7 separate regions of the Homo sapiens genome follow, and all the other regions are linked to region 2. Evidence: promoter capture Hi-C in 16 types of primary human blood cells and fetal thymus (Javierre and others, 2016). All regions are on one chromosome and are shown on one strand. The core of a region is centred on a gene start or on the middle of the fragment in contact, and the rest is flanking DNA. Distances in the headings are between cores, read along the strand shown.

Region 1 (4,298 bases), core at 1,095-3,594, 4.4 Mb after region 2:
CCGTCTGTACGAAAAATACAAAAATTAGCCGGGCATGGTGGCACCCACCTGTAATCCCAGCTACTAGAAAGGCTGAGGCAGGAGAATCACTTGAACCCGGAGGCGGAGGTTGCAGTGAGTCGAGATCGCATCACTTCACTCCAGCCTGGGTGAAAGAGCAAAACTCCGTCTCAAAAAAAGAAAAAAAGAAAAAGAAAAAAAAGAATCATACTCCATTCCAATTGTGATGTCCCCCTTTAAAGTTTCAGTTTGGGTGTTAGGGTAGGCAGAGAAGGCCTGGAAGCAAAGAAGTTGTGGAAATGGGGCTGGCAGGGCTTCGTTTCAAGTCAAGTCGAGTTCCTGAGCGGTGTGGCTGAGTACCGTTTTGAGAAGGGATATATAAAAAGATTTCAAGGTGGTAAAACTTGGTTTTGAGGGAACTTGATTTTTACAGGAGTATAGCGACTGTCCAAAATCATATTAAATAAATCTAAAGGTTAGGTAAGACTAAAGCCATAAGAGAATTTTTTTGAGTAGGTCCACCTTCACTAAAGAGCATTTTTTAGTTCTGCAGCTGGCAATCTGGACAGAAAAAAATGGGGTAAGTTTTCATAACCCAAGTGCTCAGTTGTGTCTATTCATTACATATAAAAAAGAAATGCATGACCATTAACAGATGCTGTTTGCAGTCAAGAAGACAGCAGTAAAACATAAGCAGGATAAAAATCTCAGCGTCTTGAAAGGAAACCATTTAGCAACGAAATAAACTTAAAAATTAATTGTATCAATGAACTCTTGATTTCTAAAATCTTTGCTTTTTCTGCACTATGATTACTGCTACTGACAGGAACGCAAGTTACTCAATATAGTTGATTGCAAGTAATTTAGATGTTCTCCAACAGCACAAAGAAAGAAAATGACTTCATCTTTTGGACAAGAGACAGTTCTGGAATCCTAGTTTAAATATAGATGGCAGACCTACGGTGCGATCTGAGAATGATTCTTATTTAGAAGGGGCTTCAGAAGATCTCAGAACTCCTGGAAAGACATCTTAGCATTCCATTCTGGAAATTCTTTAGTTTTGTTGGGAGAAAAAATCACTTACAAATAGAGCCAAGATTTTAATTAAAACAAGGTAGTAAATAAATGTCAAAATAAGTGGGATGAGAATAACGTTTCATTTTCAGAAGAGTCCATAGGGAACAATTCAGAGATAAATTTAATCACAAAAGGTCTGAGAATGGGAATATTCGGTTCCACCCTGGTTTTCACATCTGTTCATTTTCACTACTGGTTGCGTTTCCTACGGAGACTCGGGTGGAACATAAAAGTGGGGCTACTTTGGACAAACCATTAAAAACCTTACCCTTTTTTCTCGCTACACACAACTAGACCACATTGCTCTTAGCTAAAGGGACACCTTAAATCTATTCGTTCAGCAAAACTTATAACACCGTGTTCCTTTTCTACTCAGAGGGAATCGCACAAATTAATTCTTGCAGATACTCAGCTCTCCTGTTTTTTAAGCTTCCACGTGGGCCTTAGCCAAATAACTTCTGGTAGGCAAATTCTCCCCTTCTTCAGTTGAGAGCTCAGAGCAAGCTGTTGGATTAAGCAAAAGCACCTTTTAAAAAATTAATATTCAAGGCAGCTGTACCGCGGAGGGCCTGGGTCTCGGAGTCTAAAAAATCAGACTGGACGTTACTATTTTTTTTTAGGCAAACGACAGCTCGTTTCTCATTTGTAAAACCGGGGGAACATCTTACCGAATAAACCTTACACAAACAGAAAGGATTCCTAAGGGCTGGGAAAATACTATTTTGCTGTCCCCAGGATGGAATATCAGCATCCTTGTCTTTTAGCTCTTAATAAAGCTCTAACTAGTCACAGGAGGAGCCAGGCTGCATGATCACGCACACTCTGGACGTCTAGGTTTTCCGACCTAATAAGGGGGCAGGTCGCGTCGTTCCCTGCTTAAATTAGAGACCACCTCCACCTGCCAAGGGCCCTTCAAACCCTCCGCCCCTAGGTCGCTAACGATCACCGCTTTAGTTCTAGCTCCAGGCGCCGCCTGGCGGCTGTCTCCGGAAGTCGCCTGCGAGCCTCGGGGTCCTGACCGCTGCTGGGCCTGCCCGTAGATTTGCCTGACTCTAGCGAACCTGGCTCCGCCCCTCCCCCACTATACGTTGAGGATTTTAAGACGGCGATGAAAGGGCTGAGGTTGTGGCGACGGGGGCGTCCAGCGGCATCTCCACTCCCCCAAGGATGGCGGAATCAGGCCGTTGTCGGGCAGCTCTCGACCCGGAAGTCGCTCGCGGCGCGAGGCCCCCGTTGCCGAGCGCGGGCGCGGGGGGCGGAGCTCGGCGGAGACGGGGAAGGGGTCGCCGTGGCTGCCGGTCCTCGAGTTGGGGGCTGCCGCGGACACTGCTAGGCAGACGGCGAGTACCGAGCGCGGGTGGCCGCGGTGTCCGTGGGCCACGCTCAGCTGCGGTCAGAGGCGACATGAGTGCCGCGGGGCTGCTGGCCCCGGCCCCGGCCCAGGCTGGAGCGCCGCCGGCCCCCGAGTACTACCCCGAGGAGGATGAAGAGCTGGAGAGCGCCGAGGACGACGAGCGCAGCTGTCGGGGCCGCGAGTCGGACGAAGGTGAGTCCTGCCGCTCGCCCGGCCGCCCGGAGCGGAGGTGGGACCGCTGGGGGAGGGGGTGGGGCTGTTCGGGAGAGGGGCGGGGCGGCCTCCGGGGCCTGGGGCTGCGTGGAGGGGCCGCCGGGAGTTGCGGGGCTCGGGGAAGTTACCCCCATCCGTGCTGGAGTAGCGGGGAAGCCCTGGGTGCGTTACACTCGACCGTGATGGGGAGAGGGGACTTAGATGTTGTCACGCTGGGGGTCCCTTTAAGACCCCGTCCTCCCTCCCAGCCGTTTCTGATTGAACCTCACTCACTAGTAGGAATTAGAAACTCATTTACTGAATACATCGAGTGTAGTTCGCCCCTTTTTTGTGTGTGAGAGCATCAGAGTCCAAAGTTGCCCCTCCCCACCCCCGAAATGCATAAGTCATCTATACTTTAGGTAGTACACTATTGAGAACTCAGGTTGGTTAAAGGAAAGGGACCTAGAACCAGCCAGATACAGGTTTAAATTTGGCTTTGTCACTTAACTCAGCTTTGTAAACTTAAGTTTTCCAGCCTCGATTTACCCAACTGTAATGGAGCTGTTTAATTCCCACACCTGCCCTAGAAGGCACTTCCTAGGGTCGGTATAGGGATTAAATGACATGCGCATAAAGTACTTGGCCTGGTACTGTAAATACTCCGTAAATGTTCTCCCCACCCGCCCCCCTCCCGGAAACAGGTAAGAGAGGGAGAGATTTGCTTAATGGTCCCCAGGTGTTGTGTTTTCAGTCCCACGCTCTTTGCACTGTCATCACAGAGTCTCAGAGCCTTGCTTTTCAAACTGGGCTTTATAATTTGGCAAGTGTGAGGAACGCTATTTTGGAGGGATGGAGGAGGAGGAAGGTGATGAAATGTGAGAGATCAAGGGAGGAGAAATAGGAAACAAAGAGAGACCGATATATGAGCGGAATATTCTGGGACAAAATCGGGCCGTGGAGCAAAAGCTAGACCAGCTGTTTGGAATGGGGCCTACGTTTTATTCATCTGAGTTTCCCGAGTGCCAAGTAATGTGGCTGACCATGACAGGAACTCAGGGAAGGCCTCTTGACTGAAGGAGGGGAGAAGGGTTTGTGGGGAATTGGATCTGCAACAGCCTTACAAAAGACAGCTGCATATGCATGACATACAAAGTTGAGGGACTGCATTCGATTTAATTCCATCAGAAGACACGGCTTAACCAGAGATTTTGAATGTGAAGCACTTGCACTTCATCTCATACCCACGAGGGGGCGCTGTGGAGCCAAAATTGAGTTTTTTTTTCCTTCCAGTATAGGGGCTATTAAAATTTTGTACACACCCCAGCCATTAGCTTGTTCTAAGAACAATGTTTAAGATGTTCTGAAACAGTTTTCGTTTGATCATCTGGCCTCCTCCTTGTTCCCTTTAGTTGTAACTTGGAAAATATTTATTTGTGTCAGATTCCCCTTTTTTATTGTATACAGTTGGCTCTGCGTATCTGTGGGTTCTGCATCTGTGAATTCAACCAAGCGCAGCTCAAAAATATTCAGGAAAAAAATTGGATCTGTACTGAACATGTGCAGACTTTTTTTTTGTTATTCCTAAACAGTGTAGCGTAACAACTACTTACATAGTATTTACATTTTATTGGATATTGTAAGTAATCTTTTTTTTTTTTTTTTTAAGATGGGG
Region 2 (3,897 bases), core at 1-2,500:
AACTTGTCCAACATGGCGAAACCCCATGTCTCTACTAAAAATAAAAAAATTAGTCGGGCTTGGTGGCGCGTGTCTGTAGTCCCAGCTACTTGGGAGGCTGAGGCAGGAGCATCGCTAGAACCCGGGAGGCAAAAGTTGCAGTGAGCCGAGACTGCCGAGATTGCTCCACCGCAGTCCAGCCTGGGAGACAGAGCCAGACTCCGTTTAAAAAAAAAAAACAAAAAAAGAAAAAAACAAAAAACAAAACCAAAAAAAGCCATGAAAGAGAGAGAAAAAAAAGAGATAAGACAAACAATGATAAGAGAATCAACTACACTTGAAACACAACAAAGCTGAATTTGGGAGGGAAAGGAAGTGCAGCTACGCTAAAAATCCTCATCCCACAAAGCGAGGCATCAAGAGACACTGTCTAACCTGATGGAAGGAGCAGTAATCCATTTAAAAACAAAAAAACAAAACAGAACAAAAAACAGCGAGAGAGAGAAAAAAGGATGATCCATTCGAGCCCACCGCATCTAATCATCTAATATTACGTACATTCACCTATTTTGCCTACCACGTGTCGGGTTCTGCGCTGGGCTCCAGGGAAACAAAAAAGTATGGCTGGGTCACCACTCCCCACTTACTGGATAAATGCTGTAAAGCCCTTTACCCACTCCGTATTCCTACTTGCCCTAAGGATGGGAGTGGGAATTGGAACGCAGGTCCGCAGATTAATATTCCCCATGTCTTCCCCAACAGTTTCCAGACTGGGAGAGGAATATAAATACAGTGTCGGACCATGTCCCGGGTCAACAACTAAAAAACAGTGATCGAATGAAAGAGGTTGTGGGAGCAGGGTATTCGCCACAAGGTGGGAGTTGTCATCTCCCCGAGAAGAGGTGTGTTAGGAGTCAGGTACCAAACAACCGGCCGTGAAACCGTAAGCAGTCACTATTCCTCTTTCCTCGGGATCAAATGGGGATAAGCCCAGGATCCCGCCCCCTTTGAGTTCAGAATTGGCCCGGAGTCCTGCCCCAGAGCAAAAATTCTTCGATCACCTCCAGGCATCTCTTCCCTACCTCACAGCTCCCGGCTGGTCTCATTTCAGATTCCCAAGTCCTGCCTCTGCACTCACCCCATTCGGGAGATTCTTCACGATCAGTCGCGACATGGCGCAGGGTCCCCGCTGTTTTGATTCCAACACGACTGGTCAGCGTCTTCCACCAAGTTTCACGCTACCGCCCTGGGCGCCGCCATCTTTACCGAGCCGGAACACAGTCACGTGGCTGAGACCTTGGCCTGACCTGTCCGGAAGTAGGCGTGGCTAATCCAAAACTACTCAGGGAGGTCACACCCCACAAGGGGTGGGCCTGGGCGCTTGCATTTTGCGCAGGCGCAGGGCCTTGGGCGGATTCTGTGAGACGCCAATGCAGCGGAGAAGGCGGCAGGGGGCGCCGGTCCCTAACATGCGCCGGTTTAGCTCGGTGTTAAGGGTCGCGCCAACCGGGCAATCGCGTTCTCTCCTTTTTCTTATTTTATTTTTATTATTGAGCCTTAGGACTCCCCTGAGAACGGGGGCAAGATTAGGGACCCTTGCCTTCCTCGTAGAAATGGGGAAAGTGAAGTTTAGAGAGATTGCCAGCCAACACAAATCAAGTATTGAGCCTTTTGTGTAAATACTTGGAATGAACATGTTGGAAATAAACGCTCTCATTTTGCAGGCAGATAAACTGGGAATCGTGCGTGTAAAGCAGCTTGCTCAAAGTCTTATAACTATGAATTGGAAAGTCAGATTCGAGCTAGGGACTGCCTAGGGCCCTACAATGAGTCTCTACGCCTTCAACCCCAGCCCCACAAGCATTTTGCCTCCCTTCCTAATGTTTGGAACTCTCAGCTGGCCAATCTTCTAGCTGAGAGATCTTGGCCAAAATGGCCTCTGAGCCTTTGTGTCTACTTCTATAAAATGGGAATAATTCTTTATTATGCTAGGGGTTAAGGAGGTGAGAACGTGAAAGGGATGTTATTTTCCTATTGCTTCTCTGAGCATTCTCGGTACCTACTCTTGGATGGAGACATCCTATGAAAACCCCTATTTTCACTCTTAAATGACGGTATTTCCTTTCTGTTTCCCCACAGTGCCTCAGCTGCACTGGACGTTGCTGCCAAGCTTCTGCAATTTCCTTCACCTAAAAGACATTCCGTCCCCCCTTCTTATTGTTAACAGCTTTATCACAAACCATGCAATTCACCCACTTAAAGTGCACAATTCAATGGTGCTGACTATATTTACAGAGGTGTGCAGCCATCACCACAATCAATGCTAGGACATTTTCATTACCCCCAAAGAAACACCACACCCTTTAGCTATAACCTTCCAATTCCTCCCTCTCCCTTCCCTCTGATAACCACTAATCTACTTTCCGTCTCTATGGATTTGTCTGTTATGGACATTTCATGTAAATGGAATAATACAATATGTAGTCTTTTGTAATTGACTTCTTTCACTTAGCATAATGTTTTCAAAGTTCTTCCATGTTGCAGCATGAATCAGCACTTTATTTATCTGTTTATTTATTTGAGACAGGGTCGGGCTCTGTCACCCCGACTGGAGTGCAGTGGCACAATCTCAGCTCACTGCAACCTCCGCCTCCCAGGCTCAAGCCATCCTCCCACCTCAGCCTCCTGAGCAGCTGGGACTACAGGCACATGCCACCATGCCTGGCTAATTTTTTTTTTTTGGTAATTTTTTGGTAGAGGCGAGGTTTCAACATGTTGCCCAGGCTGGTCTTGAACTCCTGGGCTCAAGCAATCCACCTGCCTTGAACTTTCAAAGTGCTGGGATTACAGACGTGAGCCACCACACTTTTTTTGCTGAATAGTATTACATATATGGATGTATTACATTTTATTTATTCATCAGTTGATGATGGACATTTGGGTTGTTTCCGCTTTGTGGCTACTGTGAATAATCTTGCCGTGAACATTTACCTGTAAGTTCCTGTGTGGGCATATGTTCTTATTTCTCTTGGATATATTCCTAGGAGTAGGATTGCCTGATCATATGGTAACTCTATGCTTAACCTTTTTAGAACCTGCTAACCTGTTATCCAAAGTGGCTTCCCCATTTTATATTCCTACCAGCGGTATATGAAGGTTCAAATATCTCCACATCTCCTCCAGTGTTTGTTATTGGGTCTTTATAATCATAGCCACTCTAGTGGGTGTACAGTGGTGACTCAATGTTTTGATTTGCATTTCCCCGATAACTAATGAAACAGCATCTTTCATGTGCTTTTGGCCACTGGAATATCTTTCTGAACCCATTCCCATCCCCTCTCTAAGACCAGCTCAAACATGGCATCCTCGAATATGCCTCTTTCCTACTGAGCCCCAAATGCAGGGAGCTCATGCATCTGCCACAGCATAAACCTACAGAACTCGCTGGTGAGGAGCGCACAGTGTAGGTTCAGAGTTATAGATGAGGCCACTTGTTCTTTCTACATTATGTTGCCATAGGGGCATCCTTAGATCCATCTTTGCAAAGCATCACACTGGGCACCAGGAGGAGACAGGTAATAGGAGTTCATTAAATGCTAATTGTAAATTAAGGTCTGTCCATTCAACAGAATTCTATGCAGTTGTTAAAAAACGGTAGGTATGTAGCTATAAATGTTTTTGAAGGAAATGCATCAGTCAGCAGGACACAGAGGTATACTCAAAAGGATTTAACAAAAGCAAATCTGGACAAAAAGCTATTTACAGAAGGGTGGGCAGTGTAGTGGGATGAATGATCCCCTGTCCCCTCACCACCACACACACTGGGGGCATCCTGACCCCTGGAAGCTGTAAATGTGACTTTATTTGCAAAAAAGTGTTGTATTAGTTTGTTCTCACGCTGCTAATGAAGACATACCT
Region 3 (3,719 bases), core at 1,091-3,590, 4.1 Mb after region 2:
GAGTAGCTGGGACTACAGGCGCATGCCACCATACCCAGCTAATTTTTTAATTTTTGCAGAGACAGGGTCTCACTATGCTGCCCAGGTTAGTCACTAAATCCTGGCCTCAAGCAATCCACCCCACCTCAGCCTCCCAAAGTGCTGAGATTACAGGCGTGTGACACCAAACCTGGCCCTAATTTCTGTATTTGAATTAAGGAATACACCTGTAGCTACTTTATTCCAAAAGAATTAAGGCATATTTATTATTTCATTTTAATATCCTAAATTTAATTTTTCTAGAAAGAGATACTAAAATCTCCATTTTATGGGTTATTAACTTTCCTGGGGTCACAAAATCAGGGGCAGAACTGGAACTAAGGTCTTAGGTATCCTGGCCTAATGCTCAACAAATACTTTGAGTTTGCTAATGAATCAAGGGATGAGTTACGTGAAAAGCAGGGAGGTCGTACCGTGGGAAAGAGCTGATGAGGCAAGACAGATTCATTGGCAGAATTTAGCTTCACTGAAGTTAAAGTTTCTAAAAACTTTATTTCAAAAAGCAGTATAATTATTTGGTTAATATCAATTATTTGCTCAATATCAAAAGCACTACATGATTTTTAAAAAATGTATAACTACCCTAACTAGAATATAAATGCCCCAAATTCTCTCTTTTAAAATACTTTTAAAATAGCTATTGTTGGCAGGGTGTGGCGGCTACGCCTTTAGGAAGCTGAGGTGGGAGGATCACTTGAGACAAGGAGTTCAAGGCTGCAGTGAGCTATGATCATGCCACTGTACTCCAGCCTGGGTGACAGAGCAAGACCTTTTCTCTGCCCCCCAAAAAGCCCGATTATTTTAAATTATAAAAATAATAAATAAAAATAGTAGCGAAACATGGGAGAAATGTGAAAATGAGACAAAGTAAAAATTACCTATAATCCTAACACCACCATTCTAAACGTCTCACTATAAATTTTTGTGTATATACACAAATGTCTTTTAAAAACAAATCTGATATCATACTGCATACATGGTTTTACAAACTGCTTTTTTTTGTTTTTTTAAGAGACAGTGTCTTACTGTTGCCCAGGCTGGAGTGGCCTGGTATGATCAGAGCTCACTGCAGCCTCTAATTCCTGGGTGCAGGTGATCCTCCCATCTCAGCCTCCTGAGTAGCTAGGACCACATGCACCTGCCACCACGCCAGGCTAATTTTTAAAACTTTTTTGTAGAAACCAAGTCTTGTTACGTTGCCCATGCTGATCTAGAACTCCTAGCCTCAAGTGATCCTCCCACTTCTGCCTCCCAATGTGCTGGGATTACAGGCGTGAGCCACCGCACCCGGCCATATAGCCTGTTTTTTTTCAATAAGCCTCATACTGCAAACATTTCCTCAGAATACTGTTCTTCAAAATATGTGATTTTGCCAGGTGCAATGGCTCACGCCTGTAATCCCAGCACTTTGGGAGGCCAAGGCAGGTAGATCCCTTGAGGCCAGGAGTCAAAGACTGGCCTGGGCAACATGGTGAAAACTTGTCTCTTCTAAAAATACAAAAAAATTAGCTGAGTGTGGTGGCACACGCCTGTAATCCCAGTTAGGAGGCTGAAGCAGGAGGACCACTTGAATCCAGGAGGCAGAGGTTAAAGTGAGCCGAGATGCGCCACTACACTCTGGCCTGGATGACAGAGCAAGACTCTCTCAAAAAAAAAAAAAAATGTGATTTTTCTCCAAAACCAGTAACTTCTCACTTAACATATGAAACAATAACACTTTGCTCATTATGTTAAATAATAAATATGAAAAAAAATGGTTAATACTCAAATACCTTTTTTCATTTTCCTTAGCTAATAGTGAAAAGATATATTCATCTATACAAATTTATGTTTTGTTCAGAAATAGGATTTAAATTTATGGTTTGTTCAGAAATAGGATTCAGAAAAAAAAATTGTTATTGTTTTCATTTACTGATACCAGTAATTAAAGTAAAGGAGCTTTCCCCAACCGACACATGCTCCACACTAGACCCTGAGCCACCCACAGTGCCCTTAGGGAGATGCAAGCCCAGGCCCTTCCTTCTACCCGGGAGCAGCTCTAGGTCATGTGACAGAAAAAAGACATATTTATCTATACAAATTTGAAAACAAGAGTGATTTTCAGGAAACTGACAGATCTTCCATGTTGTGCTTTTTAAAAAGAGCAGACTATAGAATTTATAATTCATATAGTAAATTTACTTACATGTCAAGTCTAGAAATGAAGGTGCATCCCTTGTATTTCAGGTAGGGAATTAGTAAACAATGTATGACCTTGGCATTATCATTAAACTGACCACAGAAGAAACTGAAAACTCTGATTAAAAACACATAACAAAATTTGATGGCTGCAAAAATATCATATGGAAATGGTAAAATTTTCGTAACCATCCTCTCATCCCTGGATTTCAAACTGTTTCCAATTTTCTTAACATGCAACTAATTTCATGATGAAGATCAGTGTATATAAATAGATGACACCATTTCTGAGATTTTTTTTTTTTTGAGATGGAATCTCGCTCTGTTACCCAGGCTGGAGTGCAGTGGCGCGATCTCAGCTCACTGCAACCTCCGCCTCCCAGGTTCACGCGATTCTCCTACCTCAGCCTCCTGAGTAGCTGGGATTACAGGTGCACACCACCACACCTGGCTAACTTTTTGTATTTTTAATAGAGACAGGGTTTCACCATGTTGGCCAGACTAGTCTCAAACTCCTGACCTCAAGTGATCTGCCTGCCTCGGCCTCCCAAAGTGCTGGGATTACAGGCATCAGGTACCGCGCCCAGCCCAGAAGAACATTTTTCAGGTCCTTGATGCATTTTGCCAGGCTTCCTTCCAAAAACTGCACAAATTTATCCCCCTCAACTCTAGCAGCATGCAGAGTACCCATCTCAACAAACTCCTGTCAACATTCCCTCTTATCAAGGCAAGTTTCATATCCAACTTATAAAAACCTTAAATCTAATGTTATTTATAAAAAATGCTTAAAGAAAAATAAATGAAAGCCTCAAGGGCAAGGGCCATGTCTGATTTATCTAACGACTCTCAGTCCCTAACTCAGTGTTACGCAAAGAAACTATGTAACCAAGGCTGGCCAACATAGTAAAACCCCATCTCTACTAAAAATACAAAAAAATTAGCTAGGGGTGGTGGCGCATGCCTGTAATCCCAGCTACTCAGGAGGCTGAGGCAGGAGGGAAGTGGAGGTTGCAGTGAGCCGAGATCGCACCATCGCACTCCAGCCCGGGCGACAGAGCGAGACTCCATCTCAAAAGAAAAAAAAAGAAACTACGCAACCAAGGCTGGCTGAATGAATAAATACAGACATAGAGTTGCCCTGGGACAAATGAAAACATACAGATGCTGGGCCATCTGAATGGGAGCTCACGGCATTCTGACACTGGGGCTTGTCCATCCCAAAGAAAGAAAAACTGGTATTAGAAACTAAACTTGGCCAAGCGCCATGGCTCACACCTGTAATCCCAGCTACTTGGGAGGCTGAGGCGGGAGGATTTCTTGAGGCCAGGAGTTCAAGACCAGCCTAGGCAAGACCCTGTCTCTACAAAAAATTTAAAAGTTGGCTGGGCATGGTGGCGCGCCTGTAGTATCAGGTACTTGGGAGGCTAGGGCAGGAGGATAGCTTGAGACCAGCAGGTTGAGGCTGCAGTGAGCCGTGACTGAGCTACTGCACTCAAGCCTGG
Region 4 (4,085 bases), core at 131-2,630, 4.5 Mb before region 2:
TTAACTGTGGGACACCAGGCTTAGGTCCCCCAATCCCACCCGCTTATGTGAAAACTCACCCACCCTCCCAAGTCAATGTCCCTGGAAAGGTAGGGCAGCAGCACAGAAGACCAGTCTCAGAAACAGGAAGGCGGGGTCAAGGTCAAGCCAGGCTGTGCCCTGGCCTGGTCTTAAGCAATCTCAGGCCAAGGAATGAAGGATGGTACTATTTTTAAACCTCATGTGACCTGCACGCAAACCCAGCCAGGTAAGGATGGAGCCCTGTTGTCAGGGGCTCTTTGATCATTCCAGGTGAGTAGGAAGTAGTTATGACAATGCCCCTCTCAACAATTCTTTGCCTTTTTTTTTTTTTTTTTGAGACGGAGTCTCGCTCTGTCGCCCAGGCTGGAGTGCAGTGGCGCGATCTCAGCTCACTGCAAGCTCCGCCTCCCGAGTTCACGTCATTCTCCTGCCTCAGCCTCCCGAGTAGCTGGGACTACAGGCACCCACCACCACGCCCGGCTAATTTTTTGTATTTTTAGTAGAGATGGGGTTTCACCTTGTTAGCCAGGATGGTCTCGATCTCCTGACCTCGTGATCCGCCCGCCTCAGCTTCCCAAAGTGCTGGGATTACATGCATGAGCCACTGTGCCCAGCCGATTCTTTGCCTTTTAATAACATGACTTTCCACAAGAAAAAGAAAAACGTGTGTGTGTGTGTGTATATCTATCTATCTATCTACACACACACATATACACACATGCACTGAATACTGACTATGTGCCGATGGCCCCACGGGGGAGGGTATTGTCATGCCCATTTCACCAGAGGAAGAAAATGAGACCAAAAGCTTCGGCCACTTGGTTAGGATCACCAGATACTAATGGGGAGCTGAGACTGAAACCCAGGTTGGCAAGTCTTTGTCAAGACCCCATCTTGGGAGGACAAGGGTCCAGGGAAGATACCTCTCTCTCCCCCAGGCTTGAGTTTCACTCTGAAGTCACAGAAGCATGGCAGAGATAAGCAAGCTAAGCCCTGGGTGAGGAAGTGACTTTCTCAAAGTAACATAGCAAATCAACGACCAAGTCAAGATGGTGGGAGTCCCCAACAAGCTGCCTCCTACACATCTTCAGGTCTCGACTTAAATGTCACTTCTTCAGGGAAGCCCTCCTTGACCACATAACGCATGGCCAGAGGCAGGCACATGGTGGGTGAGCTTACCTTCACTGTCGGTGAGCACTTCCATGCGCCCGCTGAACATGGCCTTCAGCATGGTGTCCTGCTTGGTCAGCGTCTGCATGGTGGTATAGTAGAGGGCTCCACCCACATTCAGCTTCACGTATTTGGAGCTGGGGCTCGTGCCCTTGAAGGAAGTGGTGCGGGTAGCAGCCGCTGGCACCGCTGAGCTCACCACACTTTCTCCTGACATCTCTTCCTGCCAGTGGAGAGGATACAGGGTCATGACATCAGGCCTGGTTGACTGCTTTCAGCCTGTGGATTCAATCTGGCCTCCAGATGTGTTTTGCTTGGGCCACGCATACACAGCATTTAAAAGTTTGCTTCCAATGTGGACAACTAAGGAGAGCTCACAGAAAAATCTGGACTTCTGGCTTCTCCTAAAATCAGAGGCCAACTGGGCTAGCAGGGGAACAACTGGTCAGAGCTGGGGTATTGGATGACCCCTAGAGAGGGCCATGCATCCCCTAGTTTGTCCCAAAACCCACCCAAAAAGCCTCATACACTGACCCTGCCTGTCGACCCTGCAGGCACAAGGGTGCCCCTAACTCTTGTGTTATAAGCACTTCCTTTCTGCCTAGCACCTGTATACATGAACACCCTGGCTGCACCCTAAAACAGCCTAAAGCACTGCCCAGGTCTCTTTACATTTCCTTATTGCCATGTACCACTCAATAGCTAGCTAAGTGTCATTTTTCAGCTGCATCACAGATGAAATAAGCTTTATGAAGTTGAATGGGATTCCAGCTGGCACTCCTATCACTTCCTGTAGGGAGAAGGTGTTTCTGAGGACTAAACAACAGACATGGAAACTTTTGGAACCAAGTTATTGCAAAATTAGACCTCCTAGACTAGTGCTGCCCAAAAGAGCAAGATCCCACTACCATCTCCCTGATAGCATGGCTGACTCTCTGTACATCTCAAAGAAATGGATACAGTGGCTGATTTACGCAGGCCTGGAAAGTGAGATTGGTATCCGGCACATGTGTACTCAGAGCAAACATGTCTGAAATGAACAGGTAAAACTGTAGAGGTGGAGATGTGCAAGGGTGGGCAGAATCTTTGCTGAATCTGGGGTAGCCCCCACGGCTGGCCCTACCATTCCCATTGAACATCAACAGTTTTTCACAGCACATCACCCTCAGACAAGGCCACTCTGTGCCCTTGCGACAAGACAAAAACAGGACCATTCAGTCATCATGTCCGGACACAGACAAAAACATAAACATTATCCAAAATACAAAAATGACCAAAGATCCCCTATCCTGGCTAATAGGAGTTATAGCTGCTGCTTTACCAATGAGAGGTTTAGCCTCCTTCCATTCTTCCTGCTTTCAAGTCAGGAATCACTGAGACCCAATCACAGAATTAGCCCTGCTTCCCAGCAGCATCCAACACAGAGCAAAGCCCCACTTCTCTGAACTGTCTCTCAAATCACCCAACACAAGCCCACAGCCCTTCTCTGAGATGTCCCACAGTTCTTCCCCACCCCAATGCAACAAGGAAATAAACCCAACTTTGCTTGACTACAGGTATGCTCCTCGTGCTTTTTGGCTGCAGGGCACTGACAGCACATAACTTGTTTGAACTATTCCCTGAAACTGAAAAAGAATTGTCTAGCTTTTCCAGATTTTCTATAATGAATGGGTACTACAACTATAACTGGTAAAACACAAACGTTATTTTTGTAAATGGGACTGGGAGTAAAGGGAGGCAGCTTGCAACAGCAGAAGCAACGCGACAGTCATGGACAATATTCAATTCAAGGTTATCCAACTCTTCTGGCCAACTCTCCCCAACTCCATGGCACCCAACAGTGGCCTGGATATCACCTGCCATGTCAGGGCCCTGCAGAGTGAAACAGAGAAAGAACGGCCTCCTGGAAAGAAATGTTTTCTCAAGAAACAGTTCCTTTTTCATCAAGAAAAGTCACAAGAAAATATGTTTTCAAAAGCTCAGGCTTAGCTCACCTGGGGTCTTTGCTGCCCGATGCCAAACACAAAAGAGGTCCAGAAGAAGCAGTTACCCCTCCTTTCTAGCTGTCCTCTGAAATCAGTCCCCAGAGACCTCACACTAACAGTTATGACCAGCCACCTCCCTCAGAAAAATCCTTTGTCCATGGGATGACAGGAGTAGCTTATGGAAATAAAAGTTTCCAAAAACTGTGAAGACCTCGAAGGGGGGGAGAAAAGGCTTACGGTCATGGGTGAGGGTGTGTGTTGAGGAAATTTGCCCCAAAATGCAAATACTTTTTAAGCACCCCTTTCAGATCTAATTTTATATAATAAATGCTTGTTATGGGAAACGATCTAGCATTTTGGAAGGTGCCTATCATGAAACAGACAAAAAAGTACATAAAGTATACTTCATGTAAAGTCAAAGCACAGTAAATATGTGATATGAAGGATTTTTTTCTAATGGCATACTTGTATAGGACACTTACCATGAATGGAGTGTGTAGGCCTGGAAATTGCTCTGGGTGAGCGAGTGGTGAGTAAATGTGAAGGTCTAGGACATTACTGTACACTACTGTAGCTTTATCAACACTGCACAGGGAGGCCACACTACATTTATTTAAAATATTTTTTCTTTCCATAATAAATTAACCTTTGCTTACTGTAACTTTTTACTTTAAAAACTTTTTAATTTTTTTTTAACTTTTGGACCCTTTTGTAATAACATAGCTTAAAACACATATTGCACAGCTGTACAAAAATATTTTCTTTCTTTATATCCTTATTCTATAAGCTTTTTTCTCTTTTTTTACTTTTTAAACTTTTTTATCCAAAACTACAAAATACACACACATTAGCCTAGCCTACACAGGGTCAGGATTATCAGTATCACTGTCCTCCACATCCTGTCCCACT
Region 5 (3,807 bases), core at 1,257-3,756, 4.1 Mb after region 2:
TTCTCACCCTTTCACCCCCAGCTCCATTTGCCGAAGAAGAAGGCGGCTTTCGCACCTGGTGACAGCACAGGGGTTCGATCCCGCGTCTCCTGACGCCTGCAATGGCCTCCATGCCAAAATGCCCTCTTCCCACTCTTCAAAACCTGCGATGCGACTATTGGTCACATTTTAAACTAGTAATAACGCTCCCTGGTCAACTTTTATTGAATGGCATATTATTAGATTAGCAGACGCCCTGTTAGATGTTCGATCCTTACAAAGACCGTAGGAGGTAGGCACCGCTTCAAATTTTACACAGGAGGAAACTGCATTTTAGAAAGATGTAATGACTTCCCTATGGTCCAAGGGAGAAAATTGGCTTGGAGGTGAATCTAGGAAGTCTGAATTCAGATCTTGTACTCTTAACCATCCTACTTAAACAGCTATGTTCTCGCAATGCTTCCAAGACTTTGAAGCAATTTGGCTTGGCTTCGAAAAGCTGCAAGTTGTCATTGTCTAGTAACTAGTTCAATTTGTCTTTATTGTGGTTAAAAAAAACCCAGAAGATTGACAGTTGTAACTATTTTATGTATTTACGTATTTTTTTTTTTTAGAGACAGGGTCTCGCTCTGTCGCCCATGCTGGAGCGCAGTGGTGTGATCACAGCTCAGTGTAACCTCAAACATTGGGGTTCAAGCCATTCTCCTGCCTCAGCCTCCGAAGAACTGGGACTTTTAGAGGCGAGCTACCAAGCCCATCCTGTAACCATTTTAAAATGTACAATTCAGTGGCATTAAGTACATTCAGAATGCAGTGTACTGTTGTGGAGTCTTCCCGCTATCTAGTTCCAAAATTTCATCACCCCAAATGGAAATCCTTTACCCATTGACAGTTACTCCCCATTCTCCCCTTCCTCTAGCCCCTGGCAACCACTAATCTGCTTTCTATCTATGGATTTGCCTATTCTGGACATTTCATGTAAGTGGAATCCTACACTATGTGGCCTTTTGTGTCTGGTTTCTTTCACTCAGGATCATGTTTTCAAGGTTCATGCATGTTGCTGCTTGTATCAGTAGTTAATTTCTTGTTATGGCTGAATCATATTCCATTGTATGGACAGAAGAGATTTTACCTATCCATTCTTCTGTTGAAGTCTATTTGGGTAGGAGTTCAGTTTCAAATGCACTTTGCAATAGTAGGTGCCCATCAGGTTGAGATTATAGGCAAACAGCTGGAAAGATGAAGTTAGAACAGAGTTTTCAACCTCAGCACTATTGACATTTTGGGCCAGATACTCTGGGTGGGTTTAGGGGAGCTGTCCTGTGCACTGTAGCATGTTTAACAGCATTCCTGGAGACTACACACTGAGTGCCATAGGACCCTCTGCCCACCTGTGACAACTAAGTATGTTTCTAGATATCACTAGATGTTCCTAGGAAGACAAAATCACCTGTGGTTGGGAACCACTGGTCTGTTCAAACTTAAAGTGCTTTCTTATTCTTCCTTTTTAAATTAGGATATGAAAGGATTCTGTTTTTTTTTTTAAGACAAGGTCTCACTCTGTCGCCCAGGCTGGAGTGCTGGAGTGCAGTGGTGCAATCTCGGTTCACTGCAACCTCCGCCTCCCGGGTTCCAGCAATTCTCCCACCCCAGCCTTCGGGGTAGCTGGGGCTACAGGGGTATGCCACCATGCCCAGCTAATTTTTGTATTTTTTGGTATTTTTTATTGAATGGCATATTATCGGGTTAGCAGACACCCTGTTAGTTGTTCTATCCTTACAAAGACCCTAGGAGGTACCCATAGAGACAGGGTTTTGCCATGTTGGCCGGGCTGGTTGGTCTTGAACTCCTGACCCCAAATGATCCACCCACCTTGGCCTCCCAAAGTGCTGGGATTACAGGCATGAGCCACTGTGCCTGACCTGCAAGGATTCTTTTGCACATAAAATATTCTTGCATTTATATATGTCATAATACATACTAAATTGTATTTCAGGGTTGAAAAATACCGGCCACAGACCCTGAATGATCTCATTTCTCATCAGGACATTCTGAGTACCAGTAAGTATTCATGTGTCAGTTGCTCTTGTCCTGCTTGAGCGACTTGTATAAATTGCTTGGTGATGTTGTCTCTCCTAAGTAATAACTTCAAAGAATCTGATTGCGCTTTGTAGAATGTGGCTTTAAGATCATTCATTCATTTTCTTCAGGTTGCTACAGTCCAGTGGGTAAGTCACAAACATGAGCATAAAATTGCAACACAGTGGAGTAAAAATAGCATTACGGAGAATCATTTAAGTTCACAGATGTTGCCAGCACCCAGAAAGGTGCCTGTAACACAGTAGGCACTCAATAAATACTTGTTGACTGGCTGCGCTATTGAGTGAATTCCAGTTGTTCCACGAAAGTAGATATGAGGCCCCTACATCAAGTTGTATCTGCCTCTGATTTGGACATTGAATTGGGTTGAAGAGCTTTCAGCCCAACTCAGGAGCCCAGGGTGAATGAGGCAGCTCCCAAAGACTGATGGTGCCCTTCTTCCTTCCTGATCCTCAGTTCAGAAGTTTATCAATGAAGACCGACTGCCACACTTGCTTCTCTACGGTCCCCCAGGGACAGGCAAGACATCTACCATCCTAGCCTGTGCGAAACAGCTATATAAAGACAAAGAATTTGGCTCCATGGTCTTGGAGGTAAATAAGATTGTTCTTACTCTACAAATAACTTAAGAGACTCCAGTCTCTTAATTTCAGTTCTGCTGGTTTTATTTTACTTTAAAAGTAAGTTGCCCCACGGACAGTTAGGAAAGAAGTAAATTTGAATATTTTAATTCCCTTTTTCCTATAATGGTCATTTTGGTCTGGATTAGCGTTGGTCAGCTAGAGGGCAGTTGTAGGGTTTGGCACCTTTTTCTTTGCTCTTGCCAACTTCTCCCCAAACCTTACTTTATGGTGACTTGGTTGCTGCCTGTCTGCCATGGCCCCTCTAGATCAATTCTCCACGTTTCTCCACCATATTCCTGCCTGGAAGGCTGAGCCCTACTGACTATAAGCTCACTTACCCTCTGGCTCCTGGTTGGGTTTGGCCAATAGGGGCCTTGGCAGGGGTGGGGGAAGGAAGTGAGTGATGCCTGGGCCTTCCCTGGGGGCTGACACAGGCTGGCAGCATGGCCCACCTGTAGGGTACATCTCACAGGTGGTACCTTTCCTGCAGCCCTCTCCAGGTGCCTACAGCCACTCCCTTCACTAAGCCCTTCAGGCTCAAGGGTGACAGGTATTGCATAGCCCCATGGTTTTCCTATATCACACCTTTAAAAAGATCTTGTTTAATTCTCTTCAAATTGCTGCATTTGAGTATGCCATCTGTATATTGCTGGGACCTTGACTAATATACTTAGATTCAAAAATCTGAGTATTGTCTATTGCAAGAAAAGTTTAACTTACTTTTTAGACGCAGGTCTCAGAACTTTGCTGCTACTAATGTCCTTATTTCAGTTTATTAAGAACTTGGTAACTTAGGATTGTGGTAGCTGAAATTTGTATCATTCTGCTCATACCAGAGGTGCTGTTCAGTGTAACCATACCAATTAATTATTTCTCCAATTTATGTCAGTCATTGTCCTCAAAGGGTGGGGGTAATATAGCCATCTTTATTAATTTAGTGAATTTTGTGTAAAACTGATTTTTTATTTTATGATGATCTCTTAGCCATCATTAGACATAGAGAGCTAGCCTGCTGAGCTGGACTGATGAGGAAATACACTAACACCAAGAACTCACAGATAGCACAGCAACATGGTTTTTGTTTTGTCTTCTGTCTTCCACATTT
Region 6 (4,261 bases), core at 892-3,391, 4.4 Mb before region 2:
CTTACCCCCTGCGTGGTGGCCGCTGGATGGGTATGAGCCCTGGATCTGGTGGGGCTGGTGACAGGCCTGTCTGCAGAGGACTTGTCTAAGAAAGATGAAGATGCAACACCCAAACTCCTCCCGCCTGGCTAGATGGGAGCATGGAGCAAACCAACCTTTGCTGCCTGCTGTGGGGTGCCACGGGAGCAGATGGCGGCTTCACAGAGAAGCTGGGGGCCAGACTCCACGTTAATCCCATGGATGGCTTAAGGAGCTTCCCCCCACCAACCATGCGTGGTGCCTCTCTGTAAAGAAAAAATGCATTGTTTGTGAAGTGGATCAAGATGCGGCCTCCCAGAACGCTGCCCTTTTGAGGAATGGCTTGTCTTAGAAGGGAAGAGAAAAGCCAAATAGAATGTTCATCTTTTGTAAAGTTAAAAAAAAAAAAAAGCCAGCCTCCAAGGCTGAGAATCGATATTAATTTCATGGGCTTATGGGCAGTGAGATAAAGCAGGTTTCTGGCAGCCCTTTCCAGCCCTATTGGATTTTACAATCTTGAACTGTGAAGACAGCGAATAAAGGTATCAAGGGCTCTGCCCGTCTCCAGCTGTCTCGGGCCAGAGCTCATCCAAATCCCCCACCTTCCATCCCAGCCTGCAGCCCTCTGAAAGGCAGGTTGGATGGCAAGAAATGTCAGCTTGAGCCCTCGAAGACGGCTCACTACAAGGACAGTTGGGATTGTGGCTTTAGGAGGGATTTATGCAGCTCCTCTGGGGCAGGTGAGGACCACGGGGTCATGCTAGAGAGTCAGCTCAACGTGGCTGCCTGGGACACGTCTATGTGCCAGAGGGCAGCCAAGGGGATGACTGACTCTACATCTGGTTTTAGACCAGGGCTGCTCGTCCGGGCACCATTGAGGTAGGGCAAGAATGGGCTCAGCGTGCTGGGGACCATCCTCCTCTGCAACCCTGCCCTCCCTGCATTTACGAGCCCGTGCGTGGCACTGCCCGCACCAGCTAGCCTGGGCATCTTCCCTCTGTGTGATCCATTTCAGGGCCTGTTGCTTGGTCTTTCTAAAACTCCAGCTTCGTGGGGGTGACCCACACAAGTGAACCTTCGCCCCCTCCTTGTACTCTGCTATAGCCACTTTGAATTTCTCACTGGATGACTGTGCCGGGTTCCGCCACCTCCAGGCTCACACAGGCTGCTCCAACTGCCAGAAATCCTCACCCTTCTAGCTTTGCTTGGTGGCTTCTTACCCTTCCTCAGTTCTCAGTGTCCACGTCATGCCAGAAAAACCTTCTCGGCCCTTCTCCCCTATCCCCTCTCTGGCCCCGGCCCCAAGGCCACGCTGTGCCTAGCATGTTGTAGGTCCCAGTTGAAGTTGAATGAATAAATGAGTGAAAAGCCAAGGGAGAATGGCCACCCAACCAGTGCCTGGGATGGAGGCGCAGCTGTGGCCAGCAGCAGAAGCCCCATGCTCCCCCAATCCAGTGTCACCTCTTGTGCCTCCCTTCTTCCTCCGTATCAGGGTGGGCGGCTTCCCGGACTGCTCCCAGTCCTGTCCCAGCTCCTCCATCTTGAGTTCAGTGTGGACCTGCCTCCTCTTCACCCTGCAGGTCGCCAGCTCTCCAGATCCTGCTGACCAACACCAAAGTCCCTCGCAATACCAGGGCCCTTGTGGCTGGCGTCAGAAACAGGCTGCTCAAGGTGACTCTTGTTCCCTTCTTGGGCAGGTTTCAGGAAGGCCAGGACACAATTACATCTGGATTTTCGAGGTCTCCCTCTGGCTGATGGGTTATAGGGGGTGTGGTGGGTGGTGGGGGCCCTTAGGGAGGTGGTTTTGGCAGAAAAGAAGGTACCGTCCGTGCCCGTAGCCTGGCCAGGAAAATGACAGTGGTCGGGCTCGTTAGACACACTGACTTTGCAGCTGGGAAGGCAAAAAAACAGGCTCAGAAGAGAGGTGGTTTCCCCAGAGGATGGGCACGGGCTGTGTGAACACCTCCTCCCTCCACCCCACTGCTGGGGCAGCTGTCCTGCATCTGCCTGCCCCCAGGCCTCACCAGCCGTTCCTTCTTTTTTTCTCCAGTTCCCAGAGATCGTGGCCCCCCTCCTGACCTCAATAGATGCCATCTCCCTGGAGTGTGAGCGCGTGCTGGGAGAGATGGGGGAAGCCCCAGCCCCGGAGCAGTACCTCGTGCTGGAAGTAAGAGCCTGTCTGCAGGAACCGGGGTTACTGAGTCCACACCACTGTCCAAGGCAGTGGCTCTGCAATCTGGCTGTGCTCAGAATCCCCCGGAAGCTAGCACATAGAGGTCAGGACCTGCCTCTGGCCTATGCTCTCAGCTGGGCCCAGGTCTGTGCGTGCCATATAAGCGTATCTTATTTTCAGGCCTCTTCCTGGGTGATTCCGAGTAATTGGGAGAGTGCAAGGGAGGCCAGGGCCTGGCTCGTGCTAAGTGCAATGGAAACAGGTTTGGGTCACTTCTAAGGAGCTCTGGCCCACGTAGGTAGATGGGGATGTGGCTGATGCAGAGTGCTCTGTCGGTGCAGGGGTGACTTCTTGGTCACTCTCCTGCTATTGCTAACTTCATGGGTGCATTCAACAACTACTTGTCAACTGCCTGCTTTGGGTCAGACAGATCCTAACATTGTTTTTTCATCATTGCAACCCCATCCACTGCCATTTGCATAATTCTAGTGTAGAGGTTGTGACCTGGTACTTTGGGTGTGATCAGGCCTGTGTGTGAATCCCAGCTCCACTTCTGCTGGACGTGTGGCCTCGCTAGAGTGTCTTAAGAATGCTCAGATTAGACGGGCGCAGTGGCTCACCTGTAGTATTAGCACTTTGGGAGGCCAAGGCAGGTGGATTGCTTGAGTCCAGGAGTTCGAGACCAGGCTGGGCAATGTGGTGAAACTCTGTCTCTACAAAAAATACAAAAGTTAGCCAGACATGACGGTACATATCGGTAGTCCCAGCTACTCGAGAGGCTGAGGCAGGAGGATCACTTGAGCCCAGGAGGTCAAGTTTGTAGCCTGGGCGACAGAATGAGACCTTGTCTCACACACACACAAAAAATGCTTGGAGTCTCATGGGTGACACGCAAGCACAATGTCTGGTGTGCTATGAGCTTAGGGAACCAAAGAGCCCAGGCTCCCCCTGGACACAGTCCACCTGGCCTGGTGAATATGGGCTGTTAGCCATCTGGCTGCCCTTGCAGAATGAGAGGATCGGGTGGCCCCTAGCTGCCGTGGCTGTGCAGCAGCCGTCAGTGAAGGGACAGGAGAGGGGCGTGCGGTCTCCATGTCACCACAGTCCCTCCCCGCGCCCCGCACTCTGTAGTCATTGCCTGGTGTCTCCCGGTCCCCCGTGGGCATTCGAGTCTGTAGCCCCTGTGCTGAGTGGAAGCTGCCACTAAAGCAAGCCTTTTACAAATGATTCTTTTCACTTGATCCTCACACCCACCTCCCTGTGAAGTAGGTGTCTTATCCCTATTTTACAGATGTAAAAACTGAGGCCTGAAGAGAGACTTCCCCCAAGGTTATCCAGCTAGTGAGTGGCCGAGCCAGGGGTCCAGCCGACGGACTGGTCTGTCCCTTTATTCAACAGATCTGTCATGAGCACCTACTATGTGCCAGGGCAGCGCCTCCATCGAATTCCTGTGTTTCGGCCCTCATTCCCTCAGTCTTTGTCTTCCTAGCTCTCAATTCCTTCCACATAGAAAGGAGGGAACACAGTCCCCCCGAGTAGGAAATCAATAATGATAGAATACTGCCTAAAATACACCCTGTCGAGTCCCTGGAGAATGCCACAGAACAGCACGTTGATTATACATTGTGTGTATTTTTGGCTGTGGCAGCCGCTGAAATGTGCAGCTCAGCTCCTGGACAGCTTTGCACTCAAACCAGCGAACTGTTCTCCTGTGTCACAACCTGTCATCTGATCCTTGACAGATTTTGGATCAGAATGTGACAGGTGTCTGGAACCTGCCTCGGCAACGTGACACCTGGTGCTCAGGCGCAGAGAGCGGCCCCCAGAAGTCTTCTCTCACATCCAGCCCATCAGGCTGGTGAGAGGCACCCGGGGCTGCCACCAGGCCATCATGCCTGTCTGCTCATTTGTCAAAAATGGTGAGCTTGGCGCAGAGCGAGGTATGAGGCAGGCTGTTGGGGAGGGCCACTCCAACCCTGCCTGACCGGCCATCCCCATGCGGGAGAGCTAGGTGGGCCTCCGCAGAGATGCCTCAGTGATTGGCAACTCCTGGTATACAGGCAATCCAGG
Region 7 (3,719 bases), core at 20-2,519, 4.9 Mb before region 2:
GTATTTCAGCCTGTATTTACTCTTTTTAATGTTTACCACGTGGTATTTATGTGGCAAAAAGGAAAACTATGTACATCCTGTGCTCTTATTTCTTGTATTTTTTTTAAATCCTGAAACTAACCTCCCGCGGTGTCAGATGTTATGGTGGTGGTGAAGTTCAAACTGACACACAAAGCAGTTAAATCTTTTGCAGCTTGTTATAGTCAACCCCACCTTGACCTGACCACACTGCCTTATAGTTAGCACTTTCAAGCTCTTGACTTCTGGCCTGAACAGTTTTGTGGTTCTGTTATCAGATCCCTTTGCTTTAGTTTGTCTTATATAACAGTTGCTGGTTGGCGGCTCTCATCCATCTTGTGTTCAGAAGTTCGTGGGGCTGGGCACGGTGGCTCATGCCTGTAATCCCAGCACTTTCGGAGGCCAAAGTGGGAGGATCATTTGAGGTCAGGAGTTCAAGACCAATGAAACCTGGTCTCTCCTAAAATACAAAAATTAGCCGGGCATGGTGGCGCACGCCTGTAATTCCAGCTACTTGGGAGGCTGAGGTGGGAGAATCGCATGAGCCCAGGAGGCGGAGGTTGCAGTGAGCTGAGATCACACCACTTCACTCCAGCGTGGGCGACAGAGCCAGACCCTGTCTCAAAACAAAAAAAAAACCGTGGCTTCTCACTGTTGAACTATGAAAGCAGAGCAACCCTCTTTAAATAGGGCCACGTCCTACCTCTCAGCCTTACCTCCACCTCCCACTCTCCCACTCCAGAGTTGGACAGTGTGGCAAACCCCTCCCCACTTCTGTCTCTTAAAAATCAAGTAGATGCCTCTGTGGCACCTCCTTGAATTGAAGTCCGTTGCCTGCCACCTCTGTGATCCAGTTTTCCTCTGAGCTGCTACGATGCATTTAGCACCTGCTGACACTGGACTTTTAGGTTTCTTACCCGTTTTCCTCCCCCGTTTTGTAAACTGGGGCAAGAATCTTGTGATTTAATGAATATCTGTGAAATGACATAGAAGTGAAATAGGTGAATAAATCATCTTGATAAGGCAGCCACACCTAATACTTAGAAAATCTCGTAAGCTTAATTTTAGAGTAAGAATTTAGAATCTAGCTCTTTGGTTTTGAAGCTAAATTAAATCCTATTAAGATCAATACTAATTTGCTTCTTGTTTGAATGCCCTATTCTGAATACCAGTAATCAGTATAAACAGGGAATATTAAAAGGAATATTTTGAGGGAATGCTCAAAAACCAGTTTCAAACCTATGAGGATCAGATGGGCCAGCAGGGCTTCTTGACAGACCAGCATTGGGAGAGTTGTTTCACAAGAGAATATGTTGGCATGGTGTGAACACCAAGGGGAGGGACAAGAGGTCCCCAAAAGCCTCCTGGTCATGGAACATCTGGAGCTGGATTCTGAAAGATAGAGTATGTCAGCTGTGGAGGAAGATTCTAAGAACGCAATGGCAGAAGCTTGAGAATGAAGACTAGGTGGGTGGGCCCTGGATGGGAAGGACGAGGCGGCCTATGTTTCAACACCTCCCGTGACAGGAACTTCATTTCATTTCATTGTCTCTTGCCACCTACTCCCATGGCCCTTTTGATCTGACCTCATTCTCTTCTGGCTCCACCTGTTAGAGGATATAGGGGAGCAGACACCCTCATATGCTGCTGGTGGGAAATCTGAATTGCTTTTTTTTTTTTTTTTTTTTTTTTTTTTTGAGATGGAGTGCAGTGGTGCAATCTCGGCTTACTGCAACCTCCACCCCCTGGGTTCAAGCGATTCTCCTGCCTCAGCCTCCCGAGTAGCTGGGACTACAGGTGTGCGCCACCACACCCAGCTAATTTTTGTATTTTTAGTAGAGATGGGGTTTCACCATGTTGGCCAGATGGTTTCGATATCTTGACCTCGTGATCTGCCTACCTCGGCCTCCCAAAGTGCTGGGATTACAGGCGTGAGCCACCATGCCAGGCCCTAAATTGCTTTAATTCATCGAAAAGTAACTGGGGGCTAGGCACAGTGGCTCATGCCTGTAATCCCAGCATTTTGGGAGGCCGAGGAGGGAGGATCCCTTGATCTCAGGAATTTGAGACCAGCCTCAGCAACATAAGGGAGGCCGTGTGTCTACAAAAAGTAAAAAAAAAATTAGGTGGGCATAGTGGTGCACTCCTGTGGGCCCAGCTACTCTGGAGGCTCAGGTGGGAGGACCACTTGAGCCCAGGAGGGCGAGGCTGCCATGAGCTGTGATGGCACCACTGCACATCAGCCTGAGCAACACAGCAAAACCGTGTCTCAAAAAATTAAAAAAGCAGCTAGGTACATATCTTTACAAGTTTAAAATACGCTTAGCCTTTGACCAGCAACTCTGCTATTAGCAATCTATGCCATAGAAGTGTTTTATTTGTTTTGTTTATGTTTGTTTGAGGCAGGGTCTGTGCTGCTTACATTACAGTATTGTTTAATTCCTGACCCCTGGTGGTTCACAGGTGAAGGTTGTCATCCTGGGACAGGATCCATATCATGGACCTAATCAAGCTCACGGGCTCTGCTTTAGTGTTCAAAGGCCTGTTCCGCCTCCGCCCAGGTACAGTTGCTTTACAGGTGACTGCAGTCCAGACATGATTCCTTTCAGATGTGTACTTAGCTTATTACAAGTGGGACTATCTGGGGCACTGTTCACTAGCCTTGGAGGAGGATTTCTCGGCCTCAGCACCATTGACATTTGGGGCTGAGTCATTCTTTGTTGTGGAGGAGGAGAGGAGTCCTGTGCTATTGCAGGATCTTGTGCCACATCCCTGGCCTCTACCACTGGAAACCAGGAGCAACCCCCAGCTCGTGATAATGAAAAATGTGCAGACATTGCCAAAAGTCCCTTGGGGGCGTAAAATCACCCCTGGTTAAGAACCACTGCTTTGGGCCGGGCGCGGTGACTCACGCCTGTAATCCCAGCACTTTGGGAGGCTGAGGCAGGAGAATCGCTGGATCCCGGGAGGCGGAGGTGGCAGTGAGCCGAGATCCTGCTACTGCACTCTAGCCTGGGTGACACAGCAAGACTGGAAAAAAAAAAAAAAGAACCACTGCTTTTGGAGGATTTGGTGTATGATATACATAAATATGCTAAGGACAGAAAACTGTCCCTGAGCAACAGTGGGGGTCTGGGTTGTAACTGCTGGGTTGATTTACTTAGGTTTTCCAGAGTGCTGTTAAATCCAAGTACAGACTAAAGTAAAGGTCTTTGGCAGAGTCACCTGTTAGAAGGAGGACTGGCAGTGTTGATCTCATTAATCGGCGCCATATGTGCCAGTGTCCCTTCCAAGGGCTGGCTGTAACTTCTAACCTTTTCACATATGTCTTAGACGTTACTGAGCTTTCAAAATTATGCTTAAGATTCTGTTTTTTGTTTTTCTTGTGGCTTGCTTTCAGTTTGGAGAACATTTATAAAGAGTTGTCTACAGACATAGAGGATTTTGTTCATCCTGGCCATGGAGATTTATCTGGGTGGGCCAAGCAAGGTAAGCCAGCGACTGCTAGATTTTTTTTTTTTTTTTTTTTTTGAGACCGAGTCTCACTCTGTTGCCCAGGCTAGAGTGCAGTGGTGCAATCTCAGCTTACTGCAACCTCTGCCTCCCAGGTTCAGGCGATTCTCATGCCTCAGCCTCCTGAGTAGCTGGGACCACAGGCATGAGCCACCATAGCTGGCTAATTTTTTAATGTATTTTTAGTA

What was found. The method cuts DNA at HindIII sites, captures the fragments that hold promoters and counts their contacts. A CHiCAGO score of 5 or more calls a contact.
Region 1: the fragment with the promoter of SUDS3 here is called in contact with the fragment with the promoter of RBM19 in region 2 in 5 of 17 cell types (naive CD8 T cells, total CD4 T cells, naive CD4 T cells and 2 more); the score reaches 11.7 in naive CD8 T cells.
Region 3: a fragment that was not itself captured here is called in contact with the fragment with the promoter of RBM19 in region 2 in 3 of 17 cell types (non-activated CD4 T cells, total CD4 T cells and total CD8 T cells); the score reaches 6.4 in non-activated CD4 T cells.
Region 4: a fragment that was not itself captured here is called in contact with the fragment with the promoter of RBM19 in region 2 in 1 of 17 cell types (fetal thymus); the score reaches 5.5 in fetal thymus.
Region 5: a fragment that was not itself captured here is called in contact with the fragment with the promoter of RBM19 in region 2 in 2 of 17 cell types (non-activated CD4 T cells and naive CD4 T cells); the score reaches 8.5 in non-activated CD4 T cells.
Region 6: a contact is called between a fragment that was not itself captured here and the fragment with the promoter of RBM19 in region 2, in 1 of 17 cell types (neutrophils). The highest score is 5.0, in neutrophils.
Region 7: a contact is called between a fragment that was not itself captured here and the fragment with the promoter of RBM19 in region 2, in 1 of 17 cell types (activated CD4 T cells). The highest score is 5.2, in activated CD4 T cells.

Annotation. Positions count from the first base shown.
Region 1 is chr12:118,374,211-118,378,508 of GRCh38, forward strand. It overlaps SUDS3 (SIN3A corepressor complex component SDS3), which reads left to right and starts at 2,345. Exons shown (of 12, transcript NM_022491.3): 1 at 2,345-2,623. The coding sequence starts at 2,482. LOC124903031 (a long non-coding RNA gene) reads right to left here and starts at 1,917. Exons shown (of 2, transcript XR_007063480.1): 1 at 1,746-1,917; 2 at 1,088-1,581. RefSeq lists silencers at 2,342-2,561, 2,592-2,741 and an enhancer at 2,400-2,900. The HindIII fragment of the contact is 4,103 bases long and covers 1,505-4,298 here.
Region 2 is chr12:113,965,075-113,968,971 of GRCh38, forward strand. RBM19 (RNA binding motif protein 19) reads right to left here and starts at 1,251. Exons shown (of 24, transcript NM_016196.4): 1 at 1,118-1,251. The coding sequence starts at 1,153. RefSeq lists enhancers at 1-601, 602-1,529, 1,488-1,557. The HindIII fragment of the contact is 5,534 bases long and covers 1-2,147 here.
Region 3 is chr12:118,046,897-118,050,615 of GRCh38, forward strand. All of the region lies in intron 2 of WSB2 (WD repeat and SOCS box containing 2), which reads right to left. Among named protein-coding and RNA genes, the nearest start is that of WSB2, 12 kb to the right of the region's middle. The HindIII fragment of the contact is 8,916 bases long and covers 1-3,719 here.
Region 4 is chr12:109,468,315-109,472,399 of GRCh38, forward strand. KCTD10 (potassium channel tetramerization domain containing 10) reads right to left here. Exons shown (of 7, transcript NM_031954.5): 2 at 1,201-1,414. Among named protein-coding and RNA genes, the nearest start is that of KCTD10, 6.9 kb to the right of the region's middle. The HindIII fragment of the contact is 1,107 bases long and covers 828-1,934 here.
Region 5 is chr12:118,017,097-118,020,903 of GRCh38, forward strand. RFC5 (replication factor C subunit 5) reads left to right here. Exons shown (of 11, transcript NM_007370.7): 2 at 1,976-2,040; 3 at 2,536-2,672. Among named protein-coding and RNA genes, the nearest start is that of RFC5, 2.3 kb to the left of the region's middle. The HindIII fragment of the contact is 6,314 bases long and covers 1-3,807 here.
Region 6 is chr12:109,589,173-109,593,433 of GRCh38, forward strand. It overlaps MVK (mevalonate kinase), which reads left to right. Exons shown (of 11, transcript NM_000431.4): 8 at 1,599-1,689; 9 at 2,069-2,185. Among named protein-coding and RNA genes, the nearest start is that of MVK, 18 kb to the left of the region's middle. The HindIII fragment of the contact is 8,311 bases long and covers 1-4,261 here.
Region 7 is chr12:109,099,421-109,103,139 of GRCh38, forward strand. It overlaps UNG (uracil DNA glycosylase), which reads left to right. Exons shown (of 7, transcript NM_080911.3): 4 at 2,482-2,579; 5 at 3,419-3,507. Among named protein-coding and RNA genes, the nearest start is that of UNG, 3.7 kb to the left of the region's middle. The HindIII fragment of the contact is 392 bases long and covers 1,074-1,465 here.